Linked DNA regions of Homo sapiens: all the other regions are linked to region 1. The links are contacts of gene promoters, found by promoter capture Hi-C in blood cells and fetal thymus (Javierre and others, 2016). All regions are on one chromosome and are shown on one strand. The core of a region is centred on a gene start or on the middle of the fragment in contact, and the rest is flanking DNA. Distances in the headings are between cores, read along the strand shown. Region 1 holds the start of SYNCRIP (synaptotagmin binding cytoplasmic RNA interacting protein). Region 2 overlaps MAP3K7 (mitogen-activated protein kinase kinase kinase 7). Region 3 overlaps MDN1 (midasin AAA ATPase 1). Region 4 overlaps MDN1 (midasin AAA ATPase 1). Region 5 overlaps TENT5A (terminal nucleotidyltransferase 5A). Region 6 overlaps RRAGD (Ras related GTP binding D). Region 7 has its middle 2.3 kb from the start of UBE2J1.

What was found. The method cuts DNA at HindIII sites, captures the fragments that hold promoters and counts their contacts. A CHiCAGO score of 5 or more calls a contact.
Region 2: a fragment that was not itself captured here is called in contact with the fragment with the promoter of SYNCRIP in region 1 in 1 of 17 cell types (monocytes); the score reaches 7.0 in monocytes.
Region 3: a contact is called between a fragment that was not itself captured here and the fragment with the promoter of SYNCRIP in region 1, in 1 of 17 cell types (monocytes). The highest score is 7.2, in monocytes.
Region 4: a fragment that was not itself captured here is called in contact with the fragment with the promoter of SYNCRIP in region 1 in 1 of 17 cell types (total CD8 T cells); the score reaches 5.4 in total CD8 T cells.
Region 5: a fragment that was not itself captured here is called in contact with the fragment with the promoter of SYNCRIP in region 1 in 1 of 17 cell types (total B cells); the score reaches 7.1 in total B cells.
Region 6: a fragment that was not itself captured here is called in contact with the fragment with the promoter of SYNCRIP in region 1 in 1 of 17 cell types (fetal thymus); the score reaches 6.2 in fetal thymus.
Region 7: a fragment that was not itself captured here is called in contact with the fragment with the promoter of SYNCRIP in region 1 in 1 of 17 cell types (monocytes); the score reaches 7.4 in monocytes.

What each region holds. Positions count from the first base shown.
Region 1 is chr6:85,641,193-85,644,561 of GRCh38, reverse strand. It overlaps SYNCRIP (synaptotagmin binding cytoplasmic RNA interacting protein), which reads left to right and starts at 1,676. Exons shown (of 11, transcript NM_006372.5): 1 at 1,676-1,765; 2 at 3,111-3,270. The coding sequence starts at 3,123. RefSeq lists silencers at 597-1,616, 2,207-2,356, 2,577-2,626. The HindIII fragment of the contact is 3,992 bases long and covers 50-3,369 here.
Region 2 is chr6:90,539,969-90,543,337 of GRCh38, reverse strand. The region is part of intron 12 of MAP3K7 (mitogen-activated protein kinase kinase kinase 7); the gene reads left to right. Among named protein-coding and RNA genes, the nearest start is that of MAP3K7, 45 kb to the left of the region's middle. RefSeq lists a silencer at 1,802-2,002. The HindIII fragment of the contact is 1,080 bases long and covers 1,250-2,329 here.
Region 3 is chr6:89,813,803-89,817,171 of GRCh38, reverse strand. The region is part of intron 1 of MDN1 (midasin AAA ATPase 1); the gene reads left to right. It also overlaps the pseudogene PIMREGP3. Among named protein-coding and RNA genes, the nearest start is that of MDN1, 4.3 kb to the left of the region's middle. RefSeq lists an enhancer at 1-160. The HindIII fragment of the contact is 7,549 bases long and covers 1-3,369 here.
Region 4 is chr6:89,645,610-89,648,978 of GRCh38, reverse strand. MDN1 (midasin AAA ATPase 1) reads left to right here. Exons shown (of 102, transcript NM_014611.3): 98 at 650-723; 99 at 833-947; 100 at 2,376-2,439. All of the region lies in intron 1 of MDN1-AS1 (MDN1 antisense RNA 1), which reads right to left. Among named protein-coding and RNA genes, the nearest start is that of LYRM2, 8.5 kb to the right of the region's middle. The HindIII fragment of the contact is 192 bases long and covers 1,377-1,568 here.
Region 5 is chr6:81,745,785-81,749,153 of GRCh38, reverse strand. It overlaps TENT5A (terminal nucleotidyltransferase 5A), which reads left to right. Exons shown (of 3, transcript NM_017633.3): 3 at 1-3,369. Among named protein-coding and RNA genes, the nearest start is that of TENT5A, 5.2 kb to the left of the region's middle. The HindIII fragment of the contact is 2,523 bases long and covers 381-2,903 here.
Region 6 is chr6:89,371,792-89,375,160 of GRCh38, reverse strand. It overlaps RRAGD (Ras related GTP binding D), which reads left to right. Exons shown (of 7, transcript NM_021244.5): 6 at 2,576-2,724. Among named protein-coding and RNA genes, the nearest start is that of UBE2J1, 21 kb to the right of the region's middle. RefSeq lists enhancers at 1-64, 2,158-2,277, 2,648-2,867, 2,777-3,071. The HindIII fragment of the contact is 1,591 bases long and covers 1,045-2,635 here.
Region 7 is chr6:89,353,331-89,356,699 of GRCh38, reverse strand. No RefSeq gene overlaps it. Among named protein-coding and RNA genes, the nearest start is that of UBE2J1, 2.3 kb to the right of the region's middle. The HindIII fragment of the contact is 1,386 bases long and covers 802-2,187 here.

The DNA.
Region 1 (3,369 bases), core at 427-2,926:
CATAGCACAGAGCTCATCTGGGGAACCAGTAAGCTCTTAAAAATAAGCTTTTTAATCAAAAGGACATTGTTTCTATTTTTCATTACAGCTGCCCTGGATAAAATTAGTATCCATATCGCGTCTGTAATTCAAATGCCTTTGTCTTGTCTTTCTTGTACCTAGTAAACGATTATAAAGGAAACGTCATTTCACAGAAGATTTAGTTGCCAAGGTTTTTTTTAAAAGAAACACAGACATTTTTCTCAAAGTTGTTCTAACCACGCAGCTTTGTGCTGTTTCAAGTTGCTCAAACTGTGCCAGGAGGAAGCCCTTAACTGCTTAAAAGGCCAGGGACTGAAACGGAGTATTGCACAACCCTTCACCACCGGGCGGTTTCGCTTCCAAATCTGGCCTTCGTGTCATCCCAAGGCAGGAGCCGCTCCTCGCTCCACTGGAGCCAGCCCCGTTCCCCCTTCAAAAGCAGCCGGGGTTTCCGCGTCCAAGCCTGGGGCGCCCCTCCCTTCGCCGAAGGTTCCCGTGAAAGCGGAGCCGCGCGGCTGCGAGGAGGGCCCACTGTCCAGTTGGGGAGATCGAGTCTCCAAGGGCGACTCTCGCACTCGAGTACCGCCAGTCCGGCGGACCAAAGGTCCGCGGGTCTCCGCGCCGCTCCCCTCCCCCTTGGCCCCATTGTCTGCCTCGCCCCGCCCCGGGGGACACGTGCGCCTGCAGCTTCCCGAGGAGGAGAGCGCGGGGCGGTGGCAGCGGCGTGGACACCGCCTGGAACGGCTACGCGGCCGCGGAGCCGGGGGCGGGGGCCGGGCGCGCACAGACCGGTGGGTGCCCTCCGGGAAGCGGCAGTCGCACTCAGCGCCCACAGCACTCTGCCCCGCCAGCCCCGGACCGGGCAGGGATGGGGCGGGCGGGAGCTCGGTGGGGGTGGCGTGCGCATGGTGTCGCGGGGAGGGGGTGGGGTGGGGCGGGGTGGGGAGATGCCAGTCTCCTGACAAAGGAAAACGAGTGGGACACGCTGAGCCGGCCCGCCCCGCCTGGAGGGGAGAGGGAGGGGGAGTGTCGGGAGGGGAAGGGGCGGGCCTTTCATTCAGTCTCGGCCCCTCGGCCGCCACCGTCGGAGCGGAAGGGCGGGGTCTTGTGCCTCCCCCACCCCCAACCCAAGGGGTGAGGAGCGGGGAAGGCGGCGCGGCGTGGGGGCGGAGCCCGCGGGCGCGCGTCCCGAGGCGTAGGCTACGTTGTCACGTCAGCGCGGGAGAGAGAAAGAGAGGAGCCGACTCGGCAGGGACTGGGGGACCGGGCCGAGAGTGCGAGCGAGCGAGGGAGGGAGTGAGGGAGCGTGCGAGCCAGAAGGGGAAAGGCGGCCACTCGTGCCTGAGCGACCGCAGAGGGGAGTGGGAGCAGTGGGGTAAAGGAGCGGGGGGCGGGAATAAGAAAGGCCGAGAGAAGGCGGACAGAGGCTAGTGGTGGTGGTGGTGGTAGGGGGAGAAGGAGGAGCTGGAGGAGGGCAGGGGCTGAGGGAGTGAGTGAAGCGGACGCGCGAGGGAGGGGAGGGAAGGGAAGGGAAGGGAAGGGGGGGTCACGCGGGGGCGCGCGCGCGCACCGGGAGCGCGCTCGGAGGCGAGTGGAACTGGATCGGGTTTGCTGCCAGCGGCGTGAGCTTCGGCCGCCATTTTACAACAGCTCCACTCGCGCCGGACACAGGGAGCAGCGAGCACGCGTTTCCCGCAACCCGATACCATCGGACAGGATTTCTCCGCCTCAGCCCAACGGGGAGGTAACGACTGCCAGAACCTGGGTGTGGGAGGGGAGCTCCATGACATTGTGGAGTGAGCTGGGGGAGGGTGGCGCGGGTAGAAACCGGCTTTTCTGGAAAATGGATTCCAATGGGGAGAAGAGCACGTTGACTGGGGCTGCCTGGGAGTAGGCCGCGGCCCGCGCCGCCACTTCCTCCTTTCCATGTGCTGCTGCGGTTCGGGCTTTGTCTGCGGCGCTTTGGGAGGAGGCGCCTCCACGGTCCCGTGGCCCGCACGGACCGCGAGCGGCTTCAGAGTTGGTGCTGTCGTGGCGGTCGCCGCGGCGCGGGAGTGGGCGGAGAGGAGTGGGTCTTGTCCTGCAGCCGTGCGGCGAGCTTGGGCGGTGCTCACGGTCCCGCGGGCGTTGAGCCGTCCGCTGAACGCCCTCACGCTGCTGGGTTGCCGGGCAGGCGTCGCAGTCACTGCACGGAAGGGTAAGGGGTGGGGACCTGCACAGCGCGCCACGGGTCACGTCTCGGCCGGGCGGGCGGCCGGGGGTCGTCGGCGCCCGGGGAGCGCCAGGGGCGGAGAGCCATGTGTCACGGCGGAGACGGCGGCGCTGGGGGGCGGGGAGAGCCTGTGGCCTGGCGCCGCCGGTGCCTCGGTGTTCAGGGGAGAGATTGTGCTGCTGCAGCTTTCTGGGGGCTCCGACCGCGGCTTCGGGTTGATGTTGGGAACCAGTGATGGTCGTCTTGGTTTGGGATTCGTTGGGTTGCCGTTGAAGGAAGTTGTAGGACATTGGAAGGCGCAGAGCACGTGTTTCTAATGGGCTCCTGGCGGCCGCAGTGGTGAGACTGCCGCTCTGGGTGCGGAGTCAGGGGCGGGCTTTGGGGTGCGGGGTTAAAGGGTGGAGAAATTGGGTGGTGGGAAGGTGGCTTGTATGAGCGCTTTGTTCTTCGCTGGCTGTTGTTACCGATCTATAAGCGGCAGGCGGGAAAAGCGCGCACTTTGGGGGTTTATCTTTGAGAGAGAGGAGCCCAGTTTTGCTTTCTCCACACACACCTCATTTTCCGAACGGGCACAGCTGCATGTGGCACGCTGGCTCGTACCCGTGCTGATTGGGCTCTATTTGTAATATGGTTTTTCCTAGGGAGTGTTAGCAGGTGAGTCAGGGGTGGTGCTGAGGAAGAATATGGTGAATCGGTCCTTCTGTGCCCTGTGCTCCAAATCTGGCTTGTCAGGCGATAGTGACTGTAAGGCTTTTTTAAAGGGAGGTATAGGCTAGCTGGTGTAGTAAATGGTAGAGAAAGTAAAGATGGGGCTCTCATATTGTCTTGTATTCTTTTTGAAGATCCTAGTTTAATTTTGCTTATTGCGTTTGAACAGATCTCTGGAAACATGGCTACAGAACATGTTAATGGAAATGGTACTGAAGAGCCCATGGATACTACTTCTGCAGTTATCCATTCAGAAAATTTTCAGACATTGCTTGATGCTGGTTTACCACAGAAAGTTGCTGAAAAACTAGATGAAATTTACGTTGCAGGTAAGAACTAACACTTGCAAAATTACATTATGAAATTTTTCTATTGGATTTCTGGCTTTGAGCTAAAATAGCAACTTTTTGTGGTTTCCAATAAGTGTG
Region 2 (3,369 bases), core at 540-3,039, 4.9 Mb before region 1:
AACTATCTTATATTAATTTTCCCCTGGTTATCAAAGTGGTTTCTTATTTTACAACATCATTACTATTGCTATTCAAAGAGTAGAGTTAACCCATTTTTCACATGGTAATTTTTATTTATTGAATCTGGACTGCTTCAGAAATTAACAAAGAGATCATTTTACATGGAGATCAGTTTACCTCCATGCGGAAAGGTACTGTGTATAAGGGACGTACTTTAAAGAGGTGGAAGCATTTAAACTTACATACCGCTGAACTGTGCTTCCCTTAAATGTTTGAGGGAATCAGGAAAATTTAGACAGATGGCAGTGTAATCTTATGACTAAGCATTAAGAATAAATTTATATATGGCAGCGTAGCCCACGCTATACAAGATAATGGGGGAGGGAAAAATAAGGAAAGAATAATAGTTTATAACTGTCAGGTACTACTGGCATCTAGTGGGCAGAGACCAGGGATGCTGCTAAACATCCTGATGTGTACCAGGCAGTCTTCTCCAACAAAGAATGATCCAGCCCAAAATGGCAGCAGTGCTGAGGCTGAAAACCCCTGATTAGATGTTCTTTGTGCCCTACAAAGTAGCTTAAAGTACATCTTATTTTACCTTTATACAATCTTACAACTAGGTTATCGGATGAAATTATAGCTGTTTAACAGACGAAGAACTTAGATCTGATGATGTTTAGTGGTTTTTCCAGAATCATATAGCCAGGACCCCAACCCAGATCTTCTGACTCCAAGTCACATCCATTTTTTGTTCTTTTGTTTAAGTCAGAGAAGCTAGAGTAATTTCTTCTTGCTTTCTCTTAGTGTTCACATTAAGGAGAGCTCTTCAGCCAGGGAGATCCTCTTTTATGACATTGGGCCTTTATGGAATCAGGTAACCTTAATTCTCTTAATTGCCAGAGCAGCAGTGCTATTCATATGAAAATATTATTCAGTAATACCTTTTATTAAATATTCTTTTTAGGCTTTTCCCCCCTCAGATATCAAACATTAACTTACTCAGGTGCACTTTCTTTAATAGAAGAATACAAGCTGTAGAATTGACACTAGTGGACATAAAAGCCAATCATGAATGTGCTCATAGGTAATGTTTTTAAATTAAATATAAAAATACCGCCCATCCTTTGGGAATATCTCAAATTTCCTACATGACATTTTAATTGTAAAGAAGGGTGATACTTAATTTCCAAAATTTCTTAATACTTTCTAGAAATTGTTTTGTTCTAAGTGGATTTCCCACAAGCTTTATGGTATTAGCAAATACTTCTTGATATATTCAAACTGTTTAATTAGCATTAAAACCCAATTGCAAGGATTCTTTTTAAATATAGCTTTTTAAAGATCTTATTTACATGGATAAGAGTTTCGTTAATACTTCCCTTTGGCCAAGTGCAATGTACTGAGTCTAATGTACTTCTTGGAATGAACTACCTCTCTTAATAAGAGCAATCCTTCAAGCATCACAAAAAAGGTTTTGTATATATATCTTTAAAGTCACTAAAATGTCTAACCTAGTCATAGGTAAAGAAATGCAAAGACCCTAATCTTGTAATCTTGTTTTTTGCTCGCTCTTCAAAATGTGTATACTATGCCATCAGTCAAATGTGGAAGAAAAAGCAACTTAGCAAAACAGCACTATTTATCAATTTAGTAGTCTCTCAGATCATACAGAAATTAACCTTTAATACCTTAGGACTCCCTGTGGGTCAGACTGTACAATTTTTTATACCTCTTCTACCATATTACTGGCTCTGAAGAACTGACAAACTTTTGTACGGTAACCCTTCCTTCTTTCCACTGTCCATCTGCCCTTAAAAGAGTGAGCTTTATAGATTAGCCTGGCTCCTTTTTACCAAGGAAGACACGCAGCTAAGAGCAAATTACCAGTAGAGTGTGTGACATTTTGCTGACTCTTCCTTTGTAGAGAAGGTCCTGCCAAGTAGCAGTGTGCTACCTAAGCAAAGTAAATGTAAATGTGGAAGTTTCTTGCCCAGTATTTAGACCATATGAACTACAGTTTTCTAATGCATTTGCTTGCTGGTAAGTTGGAAGGGACTTCGAGAAAAGAAATAGATTTTCTTAAATGTTTTTTATTAAAACTTGAGTTTTAAAAACCATATCCTTTCTCCTTTCAGCCAGTACATCTAATTTGTTACATTTATATTTGAAGAAAAGGGAATAGGTAGCAGATTATTGGATTCTTTGAAGTTTTTCTAGATTTTTTTTGTTCTAGGACTTTAATAAGGGCAGTAAGAACACAGATCATTGTTTTGCATGGATTTTCTTTACTTTTTCCCATATTTTCTTTTTGTCACTATCTAAGCTTCCAAGAATCTATTTTTCACCCACCTTCATCTCAAGTACACAAATGAAATAGATTATTGGGATTGTGAAACTATGTAAGACATTCTAATGCAGTTCATCTGATGTTAGAAGAATACCTAAATTTTACATTTCTTTTAAAAATCCAAATGTCAAAGAGGAACAGGTAGAATGCCTAAATATTACAAAAAAAGAGGAACAACCTTTTTCAGTTTAACATGTAGAGTAAGAGAATAAGTAGTTAAGAAAGCGAATTATTTTTCATGCTTGTAGCATCAGTAATGGAAGATGGGTTGTTCTGCTCTGGAGCCTTTGTGTGAGTAGTTATAGCATTTAAGGAAATAAACTGTAATTATAATGCATTCTAAAATCTACTGGAAAAAAATACTGTCATATACATATATACTTACCACCTATAAAAGATTTAATTAAACATTAGTCTTCTGCACTTCTACTCTGATATAAAATTTGTTGTACATGGTTCATACCGGCTTGATTGCTTTTATAAAGTGAAATGAGTTTCCCAAATGTGATATGCAAAAGTAAAATTTTCTAAATTACAGACATTTTTAATGCTATTATATCATCATAGATAAATTTATTTCTTAGTTCAGATTAGATTATAATGCTTGATTTCAAGTACTTGAAAACCATCCATTCTATAGATGAACATTGCCTTGAAGTGCTTCAATTTGAGAACCTTGAACAGTGTTGCTTTAGTGTACCTTTTGTTATTTCTAAGCCTAAAATAATATGGCATAACATTCGAGAGCAATAAAATGCCTTGACCAAAGAGGATTTTCTGTCTTACATACTGTTCTTAAGGATATGCAAAAGAAGATTGAATATACAAATGTTTTTGAGTCAGATCTTACTGAAATAGATAAGATTTTTGCCTAGTTTCCTGAAGAACCTGAACTTAATTGATATTTATTGTTTGTTATATCATTCTTAAAGCTAAAAAGAAACCTTAGGTGTCCTTATGATTTCAGCCGCATTTAGATCTCTTAACTGAATAAAAAACGCGTATTCGCTTTTAATTT
Region 3 (3,369 bases), core at 251-2,750, 4.2 Mb before region 1:
AGACCTAAGCCATCACTCAGTACATGTAAGATGTACATTGATTTGGTCTGGAAAGCTGGGACAACTCGAAGGGTGAGGGGGGCGGTCTTCCAAGTCACAGGTGGATTCAAAGATTTGCTGACTGGCAATTGGGTGAGAGTTCATTTAAATCCCTGGAATCAGTAGAATGGAGTGTCTAGGTTAAGATAGGGGTGTGGAGGCTGGGCACAGTGGCACGCGCCTGTAATCCCAGCACTTTGGGAGGCTGAGGCGGGTGGATCACAAGCTCAGGAGATCGACATCATTCTGGCTAACATGGTGAAACCCTGTCTTTACTAAAAATATGAAAAATTAGCTGGGCATGGTGGCGGGCACCTGTAGTCCCAGCTACTCAGGTGGCTGAGGCAGGAGAATGGCGTGAACCCGGGAGGTGGAACTTGCAGTGAGCTGAGATCGCACCACTGCACTCCAGCGTGGGTGACAGAGCGAGACTCTGTCTCAAAAAAAAAAAAAAAAAAAGATAGGGGTGTGGAGACCAAGGTTCATATTATGCAAATGAAGCCTCCAGGTAACAGGTTTCAGAGAGAACAGATTGCAAATGTTTCTTTTTTTAAAATTTTTATTATTTTTTAAAGAGATAGGATCTTGCTTTGTTGTCCAGGCTGGTCTAGAACTCCTAGGCTCAAGTGATCCACCTACCTCAGCCTCCCAAAGTGCTGGGATTATAAGCCTAGCCTGTAAATGATTTTTTTTTTTCCCCCAAATGCAGTCTCCTCACCCCCGCCCCTAGACGGAGATGGAGTCTTGCTCTGTCACCCAGGCTGGACTGCAGCGGCGCGATCTCAACTCACTGCAACCTCTGCCCCCTGGGTTCAAGCAGTTCTCCTGCCTCAGCCTCTCGAGTAGCCGGGATTACAGGCACCTGCCACTGCGCCTGGCTAATTTTTGTATTTTTAGTAGAGACGGGGTTTCACCATGTTAGCCAGGCTGGTCTCGAACTCCTGACCTCAGGTGATCCACCCGCGTCGGCCTCCCAAAGTCCTGGGATTACAGGTGTGAGCCGCTGCGCCCAGCCACAAAACAGTCTTTATTATGAGAAAGCAGTGTTATCTAGTCTTTATTATAAGAAAGCAATGCTATCTGGTTTCTTTCTAATAAAATAAAAGCAGTTTTCTTAAATAATTTACAAAGGGCAGAAATTGCTCTTGAACAGGGCTACCCCTCCTGGCACACCCACAGTGCTCTGCCTTGAACATATAAATAGGTACCTGTGAGCCCAGGGTTTAAGCCTGGAACTATCTCCTATGCCTTCCTCCAGGTCCCTGGTAGGGAAAGCAGGGATGAGAGTGGTGCCCCCAAGGGCCTTGGCACTGGAAACACAGTGGGCGAGTGACTCTGTGGATGACTCCCCAAAAACCAAGCACCTGGTTTGAGTTCAGAGCTCTCAAACATCTGATGCCAGCTCTTCACATTGTAGATGAAGCAAATACCAGGCTCAAGGTCAAGTATACGATGCATTACTAAACCCAAGAGTCCCCTTGGGGAGTAGAAGGAACAATTCTCCCCACCTCTGCAAGATCTCCCCAAGACACTCTCAGGCTGTGGCAGGCAGTCACTGATGGGTCCAGATGTGGCTGGAGCAGGGGGGCTCTGGGCTCCTTGCTAGTCAGGTCTTTGTTAGCAGTGGCCCAGGGGTACTGATGACTCCTGGGAGCTTCCGCCAGGAAGCTCATGGGGAAGCACAGACATTCTGGGGTACGAAGCCTTGGTGGTCAGACAGGGCTTGTTTCCTGCAGGGCACTTCCTCAGTCATGAATGAGAGTGTCATTTCACCACTCTCTTCCGCCATAATGGCTTCATCCAGCTCTTGGGACAGCTTCTGGAGATGCCGAATTCCTGCTCCCCATAGGTGCTAGGTCACTATCAGATGCGCTGGGAGAGCAGAGGAGCTCTGTCAAGGAGTAGGGGCTCTGGAAGGCAGTCTCCCGCCTCCACTGCCGTAGAGGGTAGGCACGTGAGCCTGTCCAGGTAGAGAGGTGGTGATGCACAGGGGTCTGTAGCTGAGTGGTCAGGGGCAGCTCCATACAGCTGAATCCTCTTCTGGCTCAGGCTGTGAGTTGGGGAGACACTGCTCTCCCTTTTGTACCCCTTTCTTCCTCCTCCTGGCCTTCACCTGGGTCTCCACCAGACACTTGGTGCTACTTTGGCAGGACTCCTGGATTCTCTGTGACATGGCACCCAGGGTGCTCTTAGCTGAGCGAGCTGCAGCCTGGAGTCTCTTACTGCCCTGACCCTGGTTTCTAGGGGTTTCTAGGAGGTACCTGTCCGGAGGTTGAGGTTGACGGCTCTTAGGGGCAGCCTTCTTTGGAACTGTCTGCACAGAGAACCCAGGGCCCTGGCGGAGATCTCCCAATGGCTAACCATAGGCTGCCGCTCCTTGCTGTCCAGCGGCTGCTCCTGGTGCTGGAGAGATCTCCGGTGCATGGAGGCCCTCGCATCCTGCCACTGAGAAACCATCTGTCTGGCCAAGAGTCTACTCTGCCCACTAGACCTCAACACCCCCAACATGTGCCTGAAGCCGAGCACTGTAAATGTTAAATGTTTCTTATAAGACTTAAAGAGACAACTTTGCAGGGCCATTTCAAAATTTGTCAAAGCTATATATTTTGGGCCAGATGTGGTGGTTCATGCCTGTCATCACAGCACTGTTGGAGGCTGAGGGAGGAGGATTGTTTGGACCCAGGAGTTTGAGACCAGCTTGGGCAACATAGCAGAGAGACTCTGTCTCTACCAAAAAAAAAAAAAAAAGGAGGGGGATTAAAGAACACCTGAAATACTTCTTTCAGGGTTTGCTGTCTGTCATATTTGTATCTTATTGCTACTAGTAATCTGTTTTGTCAGTCCTAAGGTCTCTGTTTTAATGTTAATGCTGGTTAGCTGTGCCAGAATTCTGAAGGGAAGAGAGTATAATGAGGCGTGTCTGACCACCCATTCCCAGCATGGCCTGAACTAGTGTTTCAGGTTTACTTTAGAATGCACTTGACTGAATGGAGAAGGATTCACCTTCATTCAGTTGGTTGGGGGGGCTTAGAATTTTATTTTTGGTTTATGCTTTCTTTTTTATTTTTTAAGACAGGATCTGGAGAGCAGTAGCCTTGACATCCTAGGTTCAACTGATCATCTTACTTTAGGACCCTCCCCATCCCCTCCAGTAGCTGGAACTATAGGCATGCCACCGCGTCTGGCTAATTTTTTTTTTTTTTTTTTTAAATCTTAGGTAGAAACAAGGTCTTGCTGTGTTGCCTAGGCTGGTCTCAAACTCCTGGGCTCAAGCAGTCCTCCCACCTTGGCCACCCAAAATGCTGGAATTACAGGCATACTTACTTAGTT
Region 4 (3,369 bases), core at 223-2,722, 4.0 Mb before region 1:
CTTGCTCTGTTGCTTAGGCTGGAGTGCAGTGGCATGATCATAGCTCACTGTGGCCTCAACCTTCTGGGCTTAAGCAGTACAGTCCTCCCACTTCAGCCTCCTGAGTAGCTGGGACCATAGGTGTGTGTCACCATGCCCGGCTAAATTGTTTTTTTTTTTTTTTTTGAAGACAGGGTTACAGGGTTTCACTCTGTTGCCCAGGTGGCTCACTGTAGCCTCAACTTTCCTGGGCTCAGGTGATCCTCCTACCTCAGCCTCCCAAGTAGCTGGGACCACAGATGTGGGGTCTTGCTGTGTTGCCTGGGCTACTCTTGAATTCCTGGACTCAAGTGATCCTCCCTCCTTGGCCTCCCAAAGTGCTGGGATTACAGGTGTGAGCTACCACGCCTGGCCCTCAAGGTCACTTTTTATTCGATGTCTACAGCAGACCATTCCTATCAGTGTAATGGATTCTAGGTTTCAACATTTGTGGTACCAGGCCACCAAAGCCTTTGGGTTTGTTGTGACTATAGTAGCCTTACTGATGTTATTCCTCTACTTGCCAAACAAAAAAATGTTTTCTTTGGGAATCTTGATGCAAAAAATAGTTGAGAGGCTCTGGTTTAGAGGATATTCTGATTCCTAAAATCATTAACTTTCTAATTCACAGCTTGCATTTGAATCTTTGGCTGTGATTGGAAATGCTCTAACCCTCCTGGAAGTGGGTCAGATTGCAGTGTGTAGGTAAGGTTGCTTTGTAATTCCTTTATGAAAACTTTTCACAACCTGTTTGGTTATTTTGATCACACAGCCAAAAAATAACTCCTGTTGTATTTGGTTTTCCTCCCCCAAGTTTTGGAGAATCTGTAAAGCTGTTACACCCATTTCATGAGCAGTTCAGTGATTACTCTGGGTCCCAGATTCTACGTCTCTGCAAATTCCAACAAAAGAAAACCAAGATTGCTCAGGTAAGAGGATGAAATAAAATGTCTTCTGCACAGTTATTTTTAAACTGGTGTAGGTTGGAGGGAGAACATTTTTATTTTTGAGACAGGACCTTGTTCTGTCACCCAGGCTAGAGTACAATGGCGCCATCATAGCTCACTATAGCTTCGAACTCCCGGGCTCAAGCAGTCCTCCTGCCTCAGCCTCCCTAGTAGCTAGGACTACAGGCGCATGCTACCATGTCTGGCTAATTTTTATTTTTTGTAGGGACAGGGTCTCACTTTGTTGCCCAGGCTGGTCTAAAATTCCTGGGTTCAAGTGATCCTCCCTTCTTGGCCTCCCGAAGTGTTGGGATTACCACCATGCTGGGCTGAGAACCACCCTCCACCGCATACAGTATTAGGACAGGGATAGTCCCAAACCTCAGCCTGTGTACCACTGGAATAGAAGCTTCCTTAGCATCCATTATAAAACAAGGTGTGACTTCTTTTTCTCAGTTCCTCAAGGATCACTTGACTTTGCATCATTGGTTTTCTAGCTCCCTACTTTTTTTTCCGAGTAGTTTGGAACATTCTGCAAAAACAAACCCATCTCCCATACCCTTATCAGCTGGGCCAAGACCTATTTTTCTCCCTCATTAAGCTTAGAGAAGAAATGATATGAAGTAAAGCCAGTGACTTACTTAAGAGAACAAAAGTTCAAAACAGCATGGGATCATATTTCTCCTGGGTCCTGCTCTGATTCAGTTTGCTTTTTCTAGGCTGCCCTGGACATTTTGTATTTTCTTGCCTTCTCTTTTGCTCAGTTGTTTTCTGTTCTTGAAAGAAGACAGCTGTTTGGTTTATTTGAGGGAGTATTGATTTCTTATGCCCCAGGGAAGCACTTCTTTTCCTTTGGGGTATCTTCCAGAACTCTAGTGGGTTATATGTTAGAGAAACGTCTCACCTGTGCTTGAGAATGCCTGTATCATCTAGGCATGGTGGCTCACACTTGTAATCCCAGCACTTTGGGAGGTTGAGGTGTGAGGACCGCTTGAGGCCAGGTGTTCAAAACCAGCCTTGTCAACATAGTGAGACCTCATTTCTACAAAAGACAAAAATAATTATCCAGGTGTGGTGGCACATACCTGTAGTGCTAGTTACTTGGCGGCAGGCTGAGGCAGAGCCCAGGAATCGAGGCTGCAGTGAGATGAGATCGTGCCACTACACTCCAGCCTGGGTGACACAGTGAGACCCTCTCTCAAAAAATAATAATTAAAAAACAGAATGTCTGTATCCAAGGATCCTCCTTTTTTAACTACATACGGCCAGAAGGGACAGTTAGTTGATGGTCTGTAAACCTGAGGTGGTTATCTGATAATCACTTCAATGTCAGAAATACTATCAGTCTCTTTGACAATGAGAAGAGCATTCACATAGTTTTCTAATTGTCTATTCCTGGTTCCGGTTTAGTTTCTAGAGTCTGTTGCCAACATGTTTGCAGCTGCTCAGCAGCTCTCGCAGAACATCAGTTCAGGTGAGCTGCATGCCTTCCTCTTCATTAACAAAATGCTTTCTTGTACTCTATATTCCCAAGCTGCTTGCTTCAGCTCAGTGTCCCCGTCACTGTGTTTTAATAGGTATGCTCCACAGGAAAAGACATAAATTGATGGAGCTGATTTTTACTTATTTATTCATTCATTCAGAAATTTTTGTTGAACCTGTACTCATGAGGCTTATAATCAATGGGGGATCTAGACACTAACTAGTATATACTTACTTGAGTTCAGATTTATAAGAGAAAGGAGCAAGGTGTGTGTGGAATTAAATATAAAGGCTACAATTAACCCTTGAATACCACAGGTTTGTCTGTACAGATCAGGTCTACTTACACATGGAGTTTTTCCAACCAAAAGTGGATTGAAAATTCAGCATTTGAGGGATGCAAAACCCGAGTATATGGAGGGCCAACTTTTCATGTATGCGGGTTCTCCAGGGCCATCTCTGGACTTGAATATGTGTGTATTCTGGTATACTGGGGGTGAGGGGGTGTGTGTCCTGAAACCAGCCCCCTGCAAGTACTGTATTCTCTAATATTTTAATAACAGAGGAAAGTAGAGAAGGACATAATATAAAAACCAGCTAATCCAACCACATTTACTTTGGGGGCTTGAAACATGCCAATTATTTAGTTCTTTTCCAAAAATCTCTCACTGTTCTCAGTGTATCATGCAGAAGCTTCAGATTTTGATGGAAGCAAGTTATTCACACCTGTCAACATTTGCTAAAACAGCCCACCCTCAACTCATGTACTATATAATCTTTAGCTGGAAACACTATGTAGCAAAAATTTTAAAACATTTTATTCAGTGTTGAGTGTTTCCTTTCTATTTGTTTTTGTTTAAACAAGTCAAATTTCAAGGGCAAAAAAATATAGAAATTAGGTACAAGGAATTAACAGAAATCT
Region 5 (3,369 bases), core at 393-2,892, 3.9 Mb after region 1:
ATCTTGTTTTGCTAACAAACGGCTTGCTCCAAATGAACAGTAGTAGGTTGGTGCAGTTCTCGTAACAATCAGCAGAACTTATGATGACACAATCCATTAATTCCAGCTGCGTGCATAGATCACATTTTTAAAATGTAAAAATGCAAGCAAAAACAGCTGTAACAAAGAAAGTGTGCTCAAGGACCAAAGATTTAACAGATAAAAATACCCAATTAGAAGAGATATAGTAGACTATATGAAGAGAGATTATATTTGTTACACACCAATATACATCAAAGTGCCTGTTGCCTTCTGAAAATTTGAAGTGGCAAAATTATTTTATGGTTTAATGATTATTTTATTTTATCAGGGACTGCCTCAAGAAGAAAATAACATAAGCTTGTGAATGGTGGAGAAAATGCCCTATTTTTTCTTGCAAATACTTGTATAAAGTTAACATTTGTTGATCTGATATTATCATAGGTACATGTGTATGTGTGTATAAATTATATGTGTGTGTGTATATATACATTTTATATATACATTTTATATGTATATATACACAGTAGATTGACTATGATCTAGAATAATGTCTCAAATAGGAAATGTTTAAATACTGTGTGTTTTTATGTTTTCAACAGGATAACATGAGACGTGGGCATATTGCAATGATGAATTAAATCCACATCTAAAAAAATTAAATGAAGGAGGGAACCAAGTAATATATTTCATAGGAAGAGCAGAAATTATACTGTTTTAGTGGGATTTTTTTTTCTTTTTTTTTTTTTCTTTGGTGAGCCATAAAATTCCACAAATGGGAGAATATTTGTTTGGCAGAGCACTCTTTTTTATATTGAACTGCCATTTTGACAGTTGGAACCCATTTATTAAAAAAAAAATTGCATTCCTCTATGATGTTTAATCTAGTGGATCATGGATCAGTAATAGGCTACTTAAATCCCTGACTGCTAAAAAGGATTTCCGGTGATCTAAACACTACTTGCTAATGTTTAAATGAATTTTAATGAATGCATTCTGCATTTCTGGACCACTAGAATTTAGTAATGTGAAATGACCCTTTTTACAGAATATTTGCACAATTGCTTAAAATTTATATATGAGATATATATTATATATAACATTTTATAAATCATGTCAATATGAAACATCTTTGATCTGGTTGTCACACTGCATTTAAATATTTAGTACTGTACTTTAAATCGCTTTCCATTAAATCAAATCCAACTTTATTTTCTTTCTTACAAAAATACCAGTTATACCTTTGTGAAATGAACTGGCATTACTATTTCAGTTCAATAACAGCTAATCCTAAAACCACCCTTTCTCCTAGCCAGTAGTTCCTCTAGATACTGGTCTCTGAAAATGCATTTGTTAAAAACAAAACAAAACTAACACATAAGAACCTTCCCTTTGTGTTGTGAAACAACCACATAATCTCCACAACCTTAGTGGATGACTGCTTGCTATGATAATTCCTCGAAGACCCAATTAGAAGATTTTCATCATCAGTTAAAGAGAGACCACGGGAGAAAAAAATATCCTCCTGTTGGCAGTATAATTTGTTTGTTTGTTTATCTAGGGATCCTCAGATGCTTAGTGCTAGGTTAATCCAGGTTAATCCGTCTGGACTACCTTTTGTGCATCTTTCTTTGAAGCCTTAATGGGAACCTGATGGGTTTGCTGTAGCAGCTTCCTTGTGAATTCTGTCAGAGCTGCAACAGCCGCTGCACTGCCACTCAGTTTTCTAAGGAACTCCTCCTACTACCATCTTGGCTCAGTCTCCCTCACTTAAGCCCTGGGTTTGAAAAATTAATTGCAACTTCCCAGGAAACATTGTTCAGTTTGCAGATTAAGCCTGGCACTCACCTATCAGAAACCAGAGCTCCGCCTGCTTAGTTGTTTCAAAGTTTTCTGAAAGAAAACTAGGGGAGCACTTGTGAACACAGGAGCAGCTGGTGATCTGCTTTCTTACCCTAACTCTTGACAAATGAGTCGTCTACTATTTTAAAGAGTCTGGAGGTCTCTGACTCTGCCATAACAATAACCTGCTGTTAATTTATAACACAGATTTTTGTTTGGAAGAGCCTTATTTGAAATACACTTTGATTTATTTTCTTAAATATTTATATTCTTTTCTTGCTTACTTCAGGGTTGGTAGCTTAGTTGGAAGTGCCAGCACCTGGCACCTATTCATATAGAACAGGCTGTACTCAAGACAACTTCTAGCATTTACTTTAAGACTTATATAATTTATTTCTATTTTGTGTGTACTATAGTCTTGTGCATATGTAGTTGAACACACAGTGAAATATATGTCTCTCTTTGTGGATGTGCGGCCTAAAAATTTGAATGTCTGGTGAGAGAGAGCCATGTGTATAGGTCAGAGAAAAGAACAGCTCCCGACTCCCTATTAGCGCCTGTGATTTGTTTCCTTTTGTGTTTATCTGGCCTAGTGTGCTGTTTCTTTAAACCAGGAAGAAGTTTTGTCTTTTGGAGGCTCTTCTCACCTGTCCAGCCTGGCATGTCAGAGAACACATAGCCTGTGACAATGCCGTTTTTAAAGGTTTACTTAATTTGCAGTAAATCCAGCTGCCTCAAGAACTCCTACACCAAGATGGACATTTCCTTTCCAGAAATGGGATCAAGTATCTGCTCACTTTGGTATTGGATGGACTAATAATGTAGCTCCAAAAATGCAAGGATGGAAGAATATGTGTAATCCAAACCAAGGAAGGAAATGAAAAGTGAACGTACTGTTTTTACCACCCCTTTCTGTTTGCTTATTGTTGGTTGCTTCACTGTGCATAAAGTTGTTTTCAATGCAACGCTTGTTAAATAAATATTGTGAACTATTTTGTAAATGAAATGTATTATGTTGAAAGCTGTCAGTTCAAAAATAAGCTTTTTTGTTGTTGTTGAAGATGAAGTGTGTTAGGTGAAACCAAAAAGCCAAAAAAAGTAATTTCATATATAGCATCTATTTGAATATAATCTTTCTTTAAAATTTCTTTTAGCATAGCATTTTCAGTGCTAAGAAAGAATCTCTATGTTATATTTTGTTAAAATAATGGCTTTCTAACAAAGCAAATGGTAAAGTACAAAGTTGGAAGATGTCAAGTTAACGAGACTTGCTGCAAAGCCTTGCAGAACGGAGGAGGCTCTGCCTGCTGGCTGTCTCTCCCTCCAACCTCTCTACAATCATGCCTGCTTTGAGGTGTTCTGTTGCAGCAAGCTGCACCTTGGGTCACTCTTTTGGAATATTTTGACTATAGGCTGCGTCACAGGCAGAAAAGGAGTTGATGGAAAATGGACTAAAAAACTGACATGTTTGAATCAGTGCTAGAGGGAACAGATTGTGAATTTTGTTTA
Region 6 (3,369 bases), core at 591-3,090, 3.7 Mb before region 1:
CCATGTGTAATTTTTAGGATAATGAGATCACATTTGTATGTGAAATTTTTCATCCTGCTTTTTTCATTTAACATTACCACCTGATAATTTTCCTGTATTATTAAATGCTGTTAATAAACAGTGTTTAATATCTATATAGTATTATATTTACTTGGAAATTTTAAATGCTATTTTCTTCATTGGGTAAAACATGTTAAATGTTTCAGTTTCTTGTTCTCAGAACATTACTTATAAGCAAGAGAGATTGAGCCTTAAAATATAGTAGTTAAAACAGTGCAATGGAAGTTAATGAATTCTGTTAAAGCATCTTTAACATTTGATGTCCAGCACTTAAAAGGTTTTTCTTTAATGTTTTGGTAGGTTATAGTGAGTTGAATCCTTTAAAAAAAACAAAAAATACGAACTTCCACAATTTACTTTTTTTTTTTTTGAGATGGAGTTTCGCTCTTGTTGCCCAGGCTGGAGTGCAATGGCATGATCTCGGCTCACTGCAACCCCCGCCTCCCGGGTTCAAGTGATTCTCCTCCCTCAGCCTCCCGAGTAGCTGGGATTACAGGCATGCACTACCACGCCTAGCTAATTTTGTATTTTTAGTAGAGACGGAGTTTCTCCATGTTGGTCAGGCTGTTCTCGAACTCCCAACCTCAGGCGATCCACCTCGGCCTCCCAAAGTGCTGGGATTATAGGCCTGAGCCACCGTGCCCACCCTCACAATTTACTTTTAAGTGGCCATGTATATGGCAGCTTAAAATACTCTCAAAACTAAAAACCTACATTTCCTAAAAATACTCTTGTGCAATTCAGGCTTTTCATTAAATCTGGCTTGATACTGTACCCCCTTGTGTATTTACAGGATTAAAGCATTAACTTTGAAATTAGCCATATCTAGGTTTGAGGTCCTGACTTTACCCCTATCGTCAGCTTTGACCAAGTTATCTTATTTTCCCCTAGCCTCAGTTTCCTTAGAAACTTAGAGGATTCTTATAGCAGACAGAGGATAATGCATTTTAAGAACTAAGAATGGTTAATATCACATAGTAAGCTTTAATAAATGCTAGTTCTCAGTGAATGTGGTAAGGTTTAACACAATTCCAATTAAGTCAAATTTCTGGTCAGTTATTCATAAATTTGGGGAGTAAAAATAAATCAGAAAATTTATGTACAGTTTTAGGTAAGGGGGAAAAGGTTTAGGGAAGTGTCCTTTGCCTGTGAGGAAAGGATTCATAACACTTTTATTACACAGGTATCTTCAGAGGGTCCAGTTTCAGTCATTAAAGCCATGATAATAAGTGTGTATTTTATGTTCTCAGCATTATGCTTAGTGCTACATATGCATTATTTCATTTAATCTTCATTAGAAAACTTTGAAATAATTACTGTTAGTGTACATATGAGGAAATTGAGGCTCAAAGAAGTTATTCGACTTGTCCAAGCTCACATAGCTAGCAAATAAAAGAAATGAGATTCAAACCCAAGTCACTTGTGTCTGCACACCACACCTTTTCTTAAATAGACCTATATATCTTTTTTTTTTTTTTTTTTTGAGACGGAGTCCTGCTCTGTCACCCAGGCTAGAGTACAGTGGCACAATCTCGGCTCACGGCAACGTCTGCCTCCTGGGTTCAAGGGATTCTTCTGCCTCAGCCTCCCGAGTAGCTGGGACTACAGGTGTGCGCCACCACGTGGTGCCTGTCTAATTTTTGTATTTTTAGTAGAGATGGGGTTTCACCCATATTGGCCAGGCTGGTCTTGAACTCATGACCTCGTGATCTACCTGTCTCCCAAGTGCTAGGATTACAGGCGTGAGCCACTGCGCCTGGCCAAATAGACCTATATATCTTATTTAACTCTTTATTTTGAAAAAAAGTTAAAACCTACAGAAAATATACAAGGGTAGTAAAATGAACTCCTGTATAACTCTTCACTGGGATTCATCAGTTTTTACCAATTTGCCATATTTGCTGCATCTCTCTTTTTCTAATACATATTGTGTATCTATTTCTTTTCAGTGAACCATTTGAGAGTAAATTGAACCAGTTCACAGTTCAGCAAATTTAGCATGGCTACATTATTATCTAATATATAGACGATATTCAGATTTTACCAGTGGTCCCAATTCTATCTTTTATAGCAGTTTTTCCCAATTCAGGATCCAGTCTAGCACTTGGCTTTCAGGTCTCTTTAGACTCCTTGAATTTGGAACATATCTTCAGCCTTTCTTAGTCTTTCATCAGACCACGCTTTTGACAGCCTGGCTATTCTAGGTGAGAAAACAAGAAGCCCTTGGCCACGGAGGTGGGGAGAGCTAACCTCATCCTTCAACTGGCTTCTTCAGGTGCCTGGAGAGTGTCCCAGCTGCTGCAGACAGCCACTCATTGTCAGTAGGAAATGACTGTTGAGGACTGTGTATGTTTTTGTGCCTGTGTGTTTCTGAGCTCTTTTGCTGAAAGGCACTGCAAGTGTAAACAACTTATGATTATCACTTTTTGTGGCTTAAAGCCGGTCTCTTGTCACTGGCTTACAGTTTCTAGTTCTTTCTCAATGGTCACATGTTTTGGTTTCTGTCCCCATTTAGTCTCAAAGAAGATGGAGCAGGAACCCCCTATGACAAGGAATCCACAGCCATCATAAAGCTTAATAATACAACCGTGCTTTATTTAAAAGAGGTGACAAAGTTCCTGGCTCTCGTTTGCTTTGTCAGAGAGGAAAGCTTTGAAAGAAAAGGTAACTTTTTGGTGTGATTTAAAAGAAGCATTAAAAGAAGCATCAGACTGCTACTGCATGTATTGTTTGTTGAATGTGGGTGGACAACAGCATAGCCCTCGAAACTTCCAGATGCCAGTCACAGGCCCTCTTGGCTTGGAGTTCAGAGCGGGGCGGGCTCCTGCCCCCAGTGTCAGCTTCTGGGCCAGTGAACTGGCCTGCCCTCTAGTGGTGCATCTGCGATTGCAGCGAGGTGGAAGTGGAACCCCATGATCCTCCCAGGGGCCTTGGCATCTCTGCTAGGGGGAAGCTAGTTGGGGCACTGTTGCCAGGCTGTGAATGAAGTCTCTTACCAGGGAGCAGACTCCCAGCCTATACTGAGGGTGGAGGTCTCCACTTTGCTCCACACCTCTAGAAGGTCTTAGGTAACCGTGTGATCTTTTGTTCTTCCCATGTAAAGGAGGGGACAACAGGTGGTTTGACTTCTGTTCAGCCTCAAAATACTTCTTAAATCTTCAGAACACAGGGATGGCATCATGATTCCGGAAAGGGAAGACCATGAATATATTTAACTCCACCAAATTTTTTTTAGGATCAAATTCAGTTTTATTTTGAAACAAAAGCAATTAAACTAATTTCCCCCTTCTATAATATCTAAACAAAAGT
Region 7 (3,369 bases), core at 245-2,744, 3.7 Mb before region 1:
TCCCCATGGGAAAATGTTCCATGTTTCTTATTAACCAATCCCAAGGGGAAATCCTGGGGGTAAAACAAGAGAAAAAACTATAGCAGGTGGTTTTTTTTTTTTTCTGAAAAAAAAAAAATTATAAAGTATTCAAGGTAATTAACAAAATGTTTACAATAAAGTCTACACTTGATCTTAGCCAAAAGACTGAGAAGCGATGCAATAAAATTTATATATGGCTTTCTGAGGTTTTTTTTTTTTTAAATTTTACTCTAGGAAGACATTGATGTAAAATAAGCTGATTCACACTATCAGTTTAAGTGATAATAACAATGCAACTGGCAAAACAAGTAATCCAGTTAGCTAATGGCAGATATTTTAAGTATAGAAAAGTATATGTGGTATAATGGGATATCAGTTCTTAAAATATCTATGCCTTATAAACAAAACCTCAAGGTAAATATACCAAAATCTGTATCATGTCCTTTTCTAAGCAGGAGGATTATGGGAGATTTGGATTTTGTTCATATTCCACATATTGAACCACTGTATTACTTTTATGATCAAGAAGAAAATCATTTAAAAAAAAGTTTCTAGTGCTAAAGAATAAGTAAAATGTGTGAACCAAGAATAGCTCGGAGGTTGTAAGAAGCATATACTTTTTTCAAATAGTGGAAAACTCAAATGTCACAAAACAGCCTGATTCTTTTTAGTGTAGCAAAAAAACCCAAGTTTCAGAGTCAGAAGACCTGGACTTGAATCAGGGTTCTTTCATTTTCTAGATAAGTCACTGAAGTTTTTTTTGAATAAGTCATTGAAGCTTTAAGAACCTTTATAAAATATATTTCAAAGTATTCAAACCAAATCAAGAAATAGATGAAAATCTAGAAAAATTTCCTCTCATTAACATAAAAAATCATATGCCAGAAAGATAATAATCTGTAGTTGAAAAAACTGAGAAGTAGACACTTGATTTCTCTGAGACCTAAATTATCTTCATCTGTAAAATGGGTATAAATAATCAGTGCCACTTCCAAGGCTGTTATGAAGAATAAATGAGTTGATGTTATGTCAAGTGCCTGATAAACAGTAGATGCTAAAAAACTATAGTCCAGACCTTGCACAAGGATGCAAATGGCGGTGGAGAAAGGGCCTGCACTTCAAAGGACTTCTGGTTCCTAACTAAGGAAAAGATGAATTACACAGGTCAAGGATTGTGGTTCTAAGATGTTTTCTAAGATTCTGAAACATTTTAAACCTCATCTTTTGTCATTTTTATTAGTTACGAAGTCGGCTTTAAGGATTAAAAAAAAAAATCTTAAAATGAAAAAAAAAAGGAGTTTTCCTTAGGATCATCAAAAGTAAAGAAAAAATTACCCCAAATTTGATCTTGGATTAAAACTTTACCTGATATAATTTGTAAATTTTTCTTGAAAGAAATAAGTGTTCTAGTTTAAAAAAATAAGCAATTTTTGGATAAGAAATTTTCCAAGGAAATGAGCTCCCTTCCCACCCAGCTGTCAGTCAAGAATTTAGTAACCTTTAAATAAAATTACTCTTCTCTTTGTATCTGTCTTTTTGAGACAGGGTCTCGCTCTATCACCCAGGCTGGAGTGCAGTGGCACCATCATGACTCACTGCAGCCTGCTCCTCCTCTTCCATCCCCCAGAGCTCAACTGATCCTCCCTTCTCAGCCTCCAGAGTAGCTGGGACCACAGGTACGTATGCCCGGCTAATTTTTGAGTGTGTGTATATTTTTAGTAGAGATGGGTGTCACCATGTTGCTCAGGCTGATCTCGAATTCCTGAGCTCAAGTGATCTGCCCACCTTGGCCTTTTTTTTTTTTTTTTTTTTTTGAGATGGAGTCTCATTCTGTCTCCCAGGTTGATCTCGGCTCACTGCAACCTCCGCCTTCTGGGTTCAAGTGATTCTCCTACCTCAGCCTCCCGAGAAGCTGGGATTACAGGCATGCACCACCACACCCAGCTAATTTTTGTATTTTTAGTAGAGACAGGTTTTTGCCATGTTGGCCAGGCTGGTCTCCAACTCCTGACCTCAGGTGACCTGCCCGCCTTGGCCTCCCAAAGTGCTGGGATTACAGGCATGAGCCACCACACCTGCCAGCCACTTCTCTTTTCTCTGTAAATGTCTCTGCTGAGAGAAATTTTGGAATTGGCTTTGATCTTGGAGCATGATTGTAATTAAGCTTTGATATGTGCCCATAATTAAATTGTTATGGGCACATGTCCACAATAAATTGTTGTTATTGTTGTTAACCAAGGAAGGAGAGATTGTTATTCCTACTGAACCAGTCCTATGGGAGAAGAGCCCCAGGGAGCAGTGGAGGTGGTGGTGGCTAAAGGAGAGCCCCAGAGGACAACTGCACCCAGAGATTGATGGACCTTGGAGGCTGAATAGCAAAAGGCTTCTAGTACTCAGCTATCAAATAGGAACGCATTATATACAGCACCTGCTTTGCAGGCCTTGCTGTGGTAGGGCCTACTGCACAAATTAGGGGCTTTTGTAGAGCTGTGGCAGGAGAGGGTGTCAAGTGTCAGTTAATCTGAAGATTCAACACAATGAATGAATGAAGCAGCATTGGAGTTTGGTTTTGTTTGCATATCTCAGTCAGTCAGATTATCAGTTTACTATACAGAAAACAACATCAGGGAATGATTTAAAATATACCATCTAATTTTAGATATCCTTCACTTTTTTACTCCCAATTTCATCAAGAAACTCACAGATTTAGATTAACTTTAACAATAGAAAACAAATCAAATTTAAGAGTTTATGTCTTTATATAACAGAATAAAACTTGCCCAACCTGATTAACCCTTTCTATCCTCCCCACCTTCCCAATCCCTCCCTCCTTTCCTTTAGTAAGGTCCCTACTCCTTAAGTCTTTTGAACTCAGTCCTCTCTCGATCCCACACATTGGACAATGAAGCAGTAAGTGTGTCCTTTGAAGTTTAACCTTTCATATTTGTATGCTTTCCCTCACATTAAATGTAATTCCTTTTTTTGACAGCTTTTACATCTAAACAAACCAAAAAAAACAAAACTCCTGCAATGCCTAAAACATGTCGTGCACCTAACACACTACCCGAGAAAAAAATTGTTATGAATATCCAACTCTGGCCAGAGCCGTGGCTCACGCCTGTAACCCCAGCACTTTGGAAGGCCGAGGCGGGCGGATCGCTTGAGTCCAGGAGTTCGAGACGAGCCTGGCCAACACGGTGAAACCGTGTCTCTAACAAAAATACAAAAAATTAACCGGGCATGGTGGCACACACCTGTGGTCCCAGCCACGCTGGAGGCTGAGGTGGGAGGATCGCTTGGGCCCGGGAGGTAGAGGCTGCAGTGAGCCAAGATCGCGCCACTGCATCC